Linked DNA regions of Homo sapiens: all the other regions are linked to region 2. Evidence: promoter capture Hi-C in 16 types of primary human blood cells and fetal thymus (Javierre and others, 2016). All regions are on one chromosome and are shown on one strand. Each heading gives the region's core, a stretch centred on a gene start or on the middle of the fragment in contact. The rest is flanking DNA. Distances are from core to core; before and after follow the strand shown. Region 1 holds the start of MAP1LC3C (microtubule associated protein 1 light chain 3 gamma). Region 2 holds the start of RGS7 (regulator of G protein signaling 7). Region 3 has its middle 120 kb from the start of GREM2.

Region 1 (2,700 bases), core at 95-2,594, 640 kb before region 2:
GCCTAGCCAACATGGCGAAACCCCCTCTCTACTAAAAACACACAAATTAGCCAGGCATGGTGTCATGTGCCTGTAATCCCAGCTACTCGGGAGAAATCGCTTGAACTCAGGAGGCAGAGATTGCAGTGAGCTGAGATCGTGCCACTACATTCCAGCCTGGGCAACAGAGCAAGACTCTGTTTCAAACAAGCAAAAAAACAACAAACACAACTTGGGGCTTGCAATCGGCATTGAAAGTGGGGGACAGTCTTGTGGGACAGAGCCCTCAGCCCGATCTGATGCTGTCTCCAGGTAGACAGTGTCAGAGTTGGATTGGAGGACACCTAGCTGGTGTCCACTGTAGAAGTGATTGCTCGGTGTATGGGGAACCCCCACCCACCCACACACACACACACACATCTAGTGTCAAAAGTGATCTGTGTTGTGAGAATATAGGAGAAATGGAGTTTGGTTTCCCCTATGTATGACCAGAGACCCAGTTTCTTAACTCTAAAAGCAAGATCTTGGGGACAATTGTCCTTCCTTCCTTCTTTTATCCCAGAGAAAACTAAGTGACAGAATATACTGGAGTGTAGTACTTGGACTTCCTTGTAACAACTCTGGGTTTTTTTTGTTTTGTTTTGTTTTGTTTTGAGATGAAGTTTCGCTCTTGTTGCCGAGGCTGGAGTGCAATGGTGTGACCTGAGCTCACTACAACCTCCGCATCCTGGGTTCAAGCGATTCTCTTGCCTCAGCCTCCTGAGTAGGTGGGATTACAGGTGCCAGCCACCACGTCCGGCTAATTTTTGTATTTTTAGTAGAGATGGGGTTTCAGCATGTTGGCCAGGTGATCCACCCGCCTCGGCCTCCCACGTGCTGGGATTACAGGCGTGGGCCACTGCACCCAGTGTACAGCTCTAGGTTTTAATCCATACCGCTTCTCTTACTTGCTGTGTGCCCTCGAGCAAATCACTTCACCTTTCTTAGTATAGGTTTCCTTCTGTGATAAAGGGCATGGACCATTGTGAGAACTACACAGCACACTTCAGGCTGAGGTGGATCCAGCTTGGACCCCCCCTTGCTACTGAAGGGCAAAAACATCCCAGCACAAGGCAGTTTTACCTCTCCACAGTCCGCTGCCCAGCCAATGATTTTATTACAAACCCTAATTTCTTTTGCAAAGAAACATCTTGAACTGGTCATGAACAAAGTGGCTTTCTCTGACCAGCAAGCAGGTGGCGATTCCATTTCCATCAGAACTGACCTCCTGCTGCCCAGGGAGGGGGAGTGGGGAGAGGGGAGGGAGAGGAGAGGCCTGATGTCACTCAGCCCTACATAAGGGCCTCCTTCAGGCTCCTGCAGGCAGTTTGGAAGCAGCTGGAGGAATGAGTTAGGTTCCCGGTTGCGGGACAGTTTTTTTTTCTTTTTTAAAACAGACACAGCTACTGAGTGCAATGCCGCCTCCACAGAAAATCCCAAGCGTCAGACCCTTCAAGCAGAGGAAAAGCTTGGGTAAATTTCTTGGGGTAGCTTTCTGGGTTATCTAAAGAGAGGAGCGGATCTGGCCTTCTCTTGATCTTTGCTTCTTTTCTTGATCTTTGCTTCTTCTCTTGTGCTTGAAATATTCACAGCAATCAGACAAGAGGAAGTTGCTGGAATCCGGGCAAAGTTCCCCAACAAAATCCCGGTAAGACACCACTGGACTTCCGCTGGGGGGCGTGGGGGTGGGGTTCCGATCCTGTTCTCTGAAAAACCAAGAGCAGCCAACAGCTTCCCTCTGTCTGTTCCAAGTTCCTAACACTCACGCTGAGTCACATTCTTAAGGACTGACACTCTTGACAGGTGGTAGTGGAGCGCTACCCCAGGGAGACGTTCCTGCCCCCGCTGGACAAAACCAAGTTCCTGGTCCCGCAGGAGCTGACCATGACCCAGTTCCTCAGCATCATCCGGTAGGTGGCGCAGAGCGTGCCCCGGAGGAAGGTGCGCTGGGTGCGCCGGGGCTGTTGGGCTTTCTTCGTTTGGCAGTTTTATTTTGGGGATGGGGGCACGTCAGGGGAAGAGAGGAAAGAGATTTTTTTGAAGTCACCTTTTAGATTCACTAGTACCCTGAAAAGATGCTCTTAGAATTACTCTATTTTAAACCCCGGGCGGAGTGGCTCATGCCTGTAATCCCAGCACTCTGGGAGGCTGAGGCAGGTGGATCGCAGAGGTCAGGAGTTTGAGACCAGCCTGGCCAACGTGGTGAAACCCTGTCTCTACTAAAAATACAAAAATTAGCTAGGCGTGGTGGCGGGTGCCTGTAATCCTAGCTACTTGGGAGGCTGAGGCAGGAGAATCGCTTGAACCTGGGAGGCGGAGGTTACAGTGAGCCGAGACTGTTCCACTGCACTCCTGGGCAACAAGAGTGAAACTCTGTCTCAAAAAAAAAAAAAAAAAAAAAAGAATTACTCTATTTTAAACAGGTAAGGAGAATCCCTCAGACAACGACAACAACAAAAAAGACCTGCCAACATTTCTAAGAATTTCCTAAAGTAGTTAGTCTTGGCTCTCAAGCTAGGCCGGGAGATCCTTTCTTTCAGATCTTGTGTGAAACCGAGTCTGCGCGTCCGTTGCAGAGACCAGCACCTTTTCCAAGTGTATGTGTGCCTAGGGGTGGGGACTTCTCCCCAAAGGAAACGTTCCCTGCTCAGAACACTGAGAGAGAAAAGCATCCCCCAAACA
Region 2 (2,700 bases), core at 49-2,548:
AATGATATTTCTCCTGTAGTACTTGGAACAGGGGCTAGGTTAGATAAATATTTGTTCCTTGAGAGAAACCTGACAAGACCTGCATGGGGCTGGGGTAATACATTGGTCCACATGGACCCCTGTTTGAGTAGAAGTGTTATCTCCAATAAGGTCTAGTCTGCTTAGACCAAGGGGTCAGGAAAGGCTGACCTTGATTATCTTCTCCTTCTGTCCCTCCCTCTCCTCCACACCTGGCCCAGTAGAGGAAGGAAAACTAGATTTACAGCTGATCTTGATTATCTTCTCCTTCTCTCCCTCCCTCTCCTCCACAGCTGGCCCAGGAGAGGAAGGAAAACTAGATTTACAGCGGCCCAGCCCTTCCCCCTGAAAGCCAGAGGCACAGGTTGCTTTACTACCACCGAGACAAAAGTGATCTGTCTCCTTTATGTCATTCTAATCCTTACAGAAGAATTTGTGGCAGCAGTACGAAGACTATAGCTAGGAGGATCAGCACCTCAGAAGCTCTTTGAAAATTGCTAGAGGATGAGGGCAGTGGGCAAGAGGAAAGTTCCTCTGAGCACCTTCTGTTAAAAGGAGAAGCCAGGCCTTGGGGATGTTCCTTCAGTTTCACAAGTGGCAAGATTTTCACCTCCGGTTGGCAGCTTTCAAATCGTTTCCCATTTCTCCAACTTAGGAAGAAGCTGTGAAAACCGCAGGCAAACGGGGATGAATGATTCATTTGGTCCTGGCCATTTCCTTCATTCCTAGGGTGTCTCAATATCTCTCTACTCTGTTATTTAAGCATAATAATAATAATAATAATAATAATAATAATAATAATAATAATAATAATAAATCATCTGCTTCCCTGGGACTTTCAGCGGAGTCGTTAGGCACGTGATGAAACCTTGGTTTGCACGGGGCTCCATCCATCCATTCATCCGTGCATCCGTCCGTCCATCTGTCCATCCATTCACTAGACCACCCACCCACCTACCACCCACCCACCCATCGCACAGCCTTCCTCCCTTTCCGGCTTACACTGGGCGTTAAACTCCGGTCTCTCCAGGCCTCCGGCGCACGTACACACGCGCGGGCGAGCGGGCGGGGTGTGCGGGAGCGCGGGCTGGCCGCGCCGGGGGCAGGACTACAGCCTCCCGAGGGGCGCGAGGGCGGGAGGCCGGGGAGGCCCGGGAGGCCCGGGCGGTGTGGCGGCGGCCGAGCCGAGCCCATCCGAGCCGGCACCTTCGGACGCCCCTGTCCCACGTGACTGTCCCCTCCTCCCTCCTCCCAGTCGCGCGCACGGGCCGGGCGTCTCGACTCCCGCGCGCGCTCGGCTGGTCCCAGTCCCCGGGAGAAGAAGCGGAGGAGGGAGAGAGCCAGCGAGGCGGCCCAGGGGAGCGGGCGCGAGTGGCGGCTGCCGGAGCCGCCTGTGCACGGGCGGCGGCGAGGCGAGGGTGGCGGTCGCCTGAGCAGCTAGAGCCGGGGCGGCGCGGAATCCGCATCCGCCGCGAGTGTGATGAAGCTACCCTGCCTCGCTGCTCCGCTTGCCGCCAGCTGACACCGCCTGCACCCAGCCCGCCCGGGAGGGGAGACGCCGCGGGGCCGTGACCTTGGCGGAGGAGGTAAATAGGGAAGGCGGGCGGGGAGGAGGCAGCGCCACCCAGAGCCCTCCCGGCCCCCGGCCCGCACCCAGCCCTCGCTCTGCGCAGCGGGAGCGTCCGCGGGCGCAGGGCGGCCGCCCCCGGGAGCCCCGCGCCGGGGCTGGGCTACGGGCGCCGCGCGCACCCCGCGGTCCACGGTGCTGAAACTGCTGCCCGGCTCCGGCGGCCGCCGCGGCGCGGGGCACAGGCTCGCCTGCCATTTGCTGCTGCCGTGAGAGCGAGCAAGGGGAGCAGGGGCTTGCCTGTTTTCTCCTCTTTGGCTGGTTGCTCTGGAGGCTTCTGCAGTTAGGCTTTTACCCACGGTGACCCGGGTAAAATGGCCTGAAGGCTTGACCTCCCACTAGTTCTTGTTGCCGGGACATATTCTGGTGTCTTCTTGCAAAAATTAGGCAGGATTACCTCCGGACTTCCGAAGCGAAGTGGGGAGAAAGGAGAGCAGCCGGTGGCTGGCAGCGCAGGCAGGTGAAAGTAGGCGAAGCATATACTCCGGCTCTGTGTGGGAGACCCGGGGGAATAGAGAGGAAGCCCGTGCGCTGGAGAATGACACCGGGAATGGGCCTCTCTGATGGGCTGCAGGTGGGGACACTAGACAGATACCTAGGAGAAAGTGTGCTAACCCGCCCCCCACTCCCCCACCGCATCCCCCAGGTGTTGCCTTTCCACCCTTTGGGGAAAACATCACCAAGTTCAGATGCAAGTATTGGGAGAGAAGAGAACTCTGTACTAGGAAAATGCTACCCACGAGTTTTTAGGGTGAGCATCAAACACTTCTCAAAATGAGTATCCAGAAAATGAAGTCAGCTAAAACAATAACCAAATGGCTATTTCTACCTGGAAGATTGTAATTTCTTACAATTCCTTGAGGTTATTGTAGGTGTCAACTCACTTTTTAAAAAATCCATGTCCTGTGTCACTTTCTCCAGCCAGCCCCAGTTTGTAAGAACGCGCCATGTGGGGTGGGTGCTGTGAATGATGATGATGAATCAGGGGAGTCCCACTGGGATCTCACTGAAGTCTCTCTGACCCTTTGCAGGGCACACTGATAATTCTTGTATCT
Region 3 (2,700 bases), core at 177-2,676, 620 kb after region 2:
CTCCTGAGTAACTGGGATTACAGGCCCAGCTAGTTTTTGTATTTTGAGTAGACATGGGGTTTCGTCATGTTGGCCAGGCTGGTCTCGAACTCCTTTGGCCTCCCAAAGTGCTGGGATTACAGGCGCAAGCCACCATGCTGGGCCAATTGTGTTATATTTAAACATATATCCTAAAGTCTTAAACAAATAACTCAGAACATTAGTCTGAATTCTTCAGTTGCAAGCAAAGAAACCCATTCTAGTTAACTCGCAAAAAAAGAATTTGGGAAGCCTGTCGGGACTCACACACCTGAGGGGAAACTAGACCATCAGGTTGGATCTGAATCCACCAGGCAGCCTCGACAGCAGGAGCGCAGGCCCTGCACCTTGGCTGTAAGGCAATGAGAGAGAGCTCCAACCATGTGCCCACTCTCCAGCCCTCTGCACCATGATCCTGGCAGAATGTTTCCAACAACCTGAGTGGAAGTCACAAGTCTGTCAGGTGGTAATTTGGGAGCTAATGAGAGAAAGCCCTTATTTGGGGTGCTGGGCTTTAATTAGTGTTTTTGGAAATAAAGAGGTAGATCTGCTAGAATGAGTAGCCCAAATGAGGTCCCGGTCCCAGTCAAGACTCCTCCAAGTCTTTTTTTCTTTTCTTTTTTTTAGAAGGAGTCTCACTCTGCAGCCCAGGCTGGAGTGCTGTGGTTTGATCTCTGCATACTGCAGCCTCTGCCTCCTAGGCTCAGGTGATTCTCCTGCCTCAGCCTCTTGAGTAGCTGGGACTACAGGCACCCGCTACCATGCCTGGCTAATTTTCGTATTTTTAGTAGAGACAGGGTTTTGCCATGTTGGCCAGGCTGGTCTCGAACTCATTACTTCAAGTGATCTGCCCACCTTGGCCTCCCGAAGTGCTGGGATTACAGGTGTGAGCCACTGCGCCCGGCCATCCAACTCCTATTGTATCTGGATATGTTGACCAGCGAAGGCTGCCCAGAAGCAGTGAATATAATATTTCTTGTCTGGGCTGCCTTCACTGCTTCTGGGCCACCTCTTCAGGTGAACATAGCCACATAAATATAGATGGGAGGTTTCAAAAAATACCTAATCTGATTATACGAGGTTCCTAAAATAAACCTCTTCATGGCTTCTAGCTGTGTTCTGGGTAAAAATCCAAGACTCTTATTTGGTTCTTCACAATCTCTGCAGTCAGAATGTTTACGGCTCAAATCCTGGCCCCACCATTAGCATTTCACTTCCTGTGTCTCAGTTTCACTTTTTAAAAAATGAGCATAATGGTTGCTGTGTGATTAAAAGAGTGAATACAAATAATACAGAACAGTGCCTGGCCCAGAGTCAGGGTTTTGTAGGTATTATTTTTCATCTTGTTAACGTTTTTACCTTTACAATTATCTAATGAAAAAAGCATCCAGTTTAGTCTTGGTAATAGGATTGCAGGCACCTGAAGTCCCACTGTGATTGACTGCATGTATTATGGGTGAGGTAATTTCCAAAAAAGAGACTAGGTTACTGTTAAGAAGAAAAAGTAAATGCCAGATGGTGTATTATTAGTCAGGCCCCTCCAGGGAAAACAAAAAACCAGAACCAATAGGAATGTGCATCTATAAAGAAATTTATTTTAAAGAATTTGTTCCCATGACTTCTACACTGCTGGTGGGAATGTAAACTAGTACCACTATGGAAAACAGCATGGAGATTCCTTAAAGAACTAAAAGTAGAACTACCATTGGATCCAGCAATCCCACTACTGGGTATCTACCCAGAGGAAAATAAGTCATTATATGAAAAAGTATACTTGCACATGCATGTTTATAGCAGCACAATTTGCAACTGCAAAATAATGGAACCAACCCAAATGCCCATCAATCAATGCGTGGATAAAGAAACTGTGGTATGTATACACGGTGGAATACTACTCAGCCATAAAAAGGAATTAATTAATGGCATTTGCAGCAACCTAGTTGAGACTGGAGATTATGATTCCAAGTGAAGTAACTCGGGAATGGAAAACCAAACATCATATGTTCTCACTCATAAGTGGGAGCTAAGCTATGAGGATGCAAAGGCATAAGAATGACACAGTGGGCTTTGGGAACTCAGGAGGAAATGGTGGGAAGGGGGTGAGAGATAAAAGACTACAAATTGGGTGCAGTGTATACTGCTCAGGTGATGGGTACACCAAAATCTCATAAATCACCACTAAAGAACTTATGTAACCAAACACCACCTGTTCCCCAATAACCTTTGGAAATAAAAAATTAAAGAAATAATTTAAAAAAAAGAATTTGTTCACATGATTACAGAGGCTGACAAGTCCTAAGATCTGCAGGGTGAGTCAGCCAGCTGGAGACCAGAAAAACCAATAGTATAGTTCCAGTCTGAGTCTGAACACTTGAGAATCAGAAAAGCTGATGATAAAATTCCAGCTCAAAGACTCAAGACTCCAGGAAGAATGGATGTTTTCAGTTTCATTCCCAAGCCACAAGAAGAAAGTTGATGTCCCAGTTCAATAGCCGTCAGGCAGGAAGAATTCCCTCTCACTCAGGGGATGACCAGCAATTCTGTTCTACTCAGACCTTCAACTGACTGGATGAGGTCCTCTCGCATCAGGGAGAGCAATCTGCTTCACTGAGTCTGCCAATTTAAATGTTAATCTCATCCAAAACATCCTCACAGACACATCCAGAATGACGTTTTACCTGG

The links. The method cuts DNA at HindIII sites, captures the fragments that hold promoters and counts their contacts. A CHiCAGO score of 5 or more calls a contact.
Region 1: a contact is called between the fragment with the promoter of MAP1LC3C here and the fragment with the promoter of RGS7 in region 2, in 4 of 17 cell types (neutrophils, naive B cells, fetal thymus and 1 more). The highest score is 6.3, in neutrophils.
Region 3: a fragment that was not itself captured here is called in contact with the fragment with the promoter of RGS7 in region 2 in 1 of 17 cell types (endothelial precursors); the score reaches 6.4 in endothelial precursors.

The regions. Positions count from the first base shown.
Region 1 is chr1:241,997,742-242,000,441 of GRCh38, reverse strand. It overlaps MAP1LC3C (microtubule associated protein 1 light chain 3 gamma), which reads left to right and starts at 1,344. Exons shown (of 4, transcript NM_001004343.3): 1 at 1,344-1,491; 2 at 1,611-1,666; 3 at 1,822-1,928. The coding sequence starts at 1,434. RefSeq lists an enhancer at 834-1,359. The HindIII fragment of the contact is 10,018 bases long and covers 1-1,488 here.
Region 2 is chr1:241,355,803-241,358,502 of GRCh38, reverse strand. RGS7 (regulator of G protein signaling 7) reads left to right here and starts at 1,298. Exons shown (of 19, transcript NM_001364886.1): 1 at 1,298-1,604; 2 at 2,677-2,700. LOC124904601 (a long non-coding RNA gene) reads right to left here and starts at 1,251. Exons shown (of 2, transcript XR_007067052.1): 1 at 1,021-1,251; 2 at 1-680. RefSeq lists a silencer at 1,397-1,446. The HindIII fragment of the contact is 5,062 bases long and covers 1-2,700 here.
Region 3 is chr1:240,734,122-240,736,821 of GRCh38, reverse strand. No RefSeq gene overlaps it. Among named protein-coding and RNA genes, the nearest start is that of GREM2, 120 kb to the right of the region's middle. The HindIII fragment of the contact is 5,022 bases long and covers 1-2,700 here.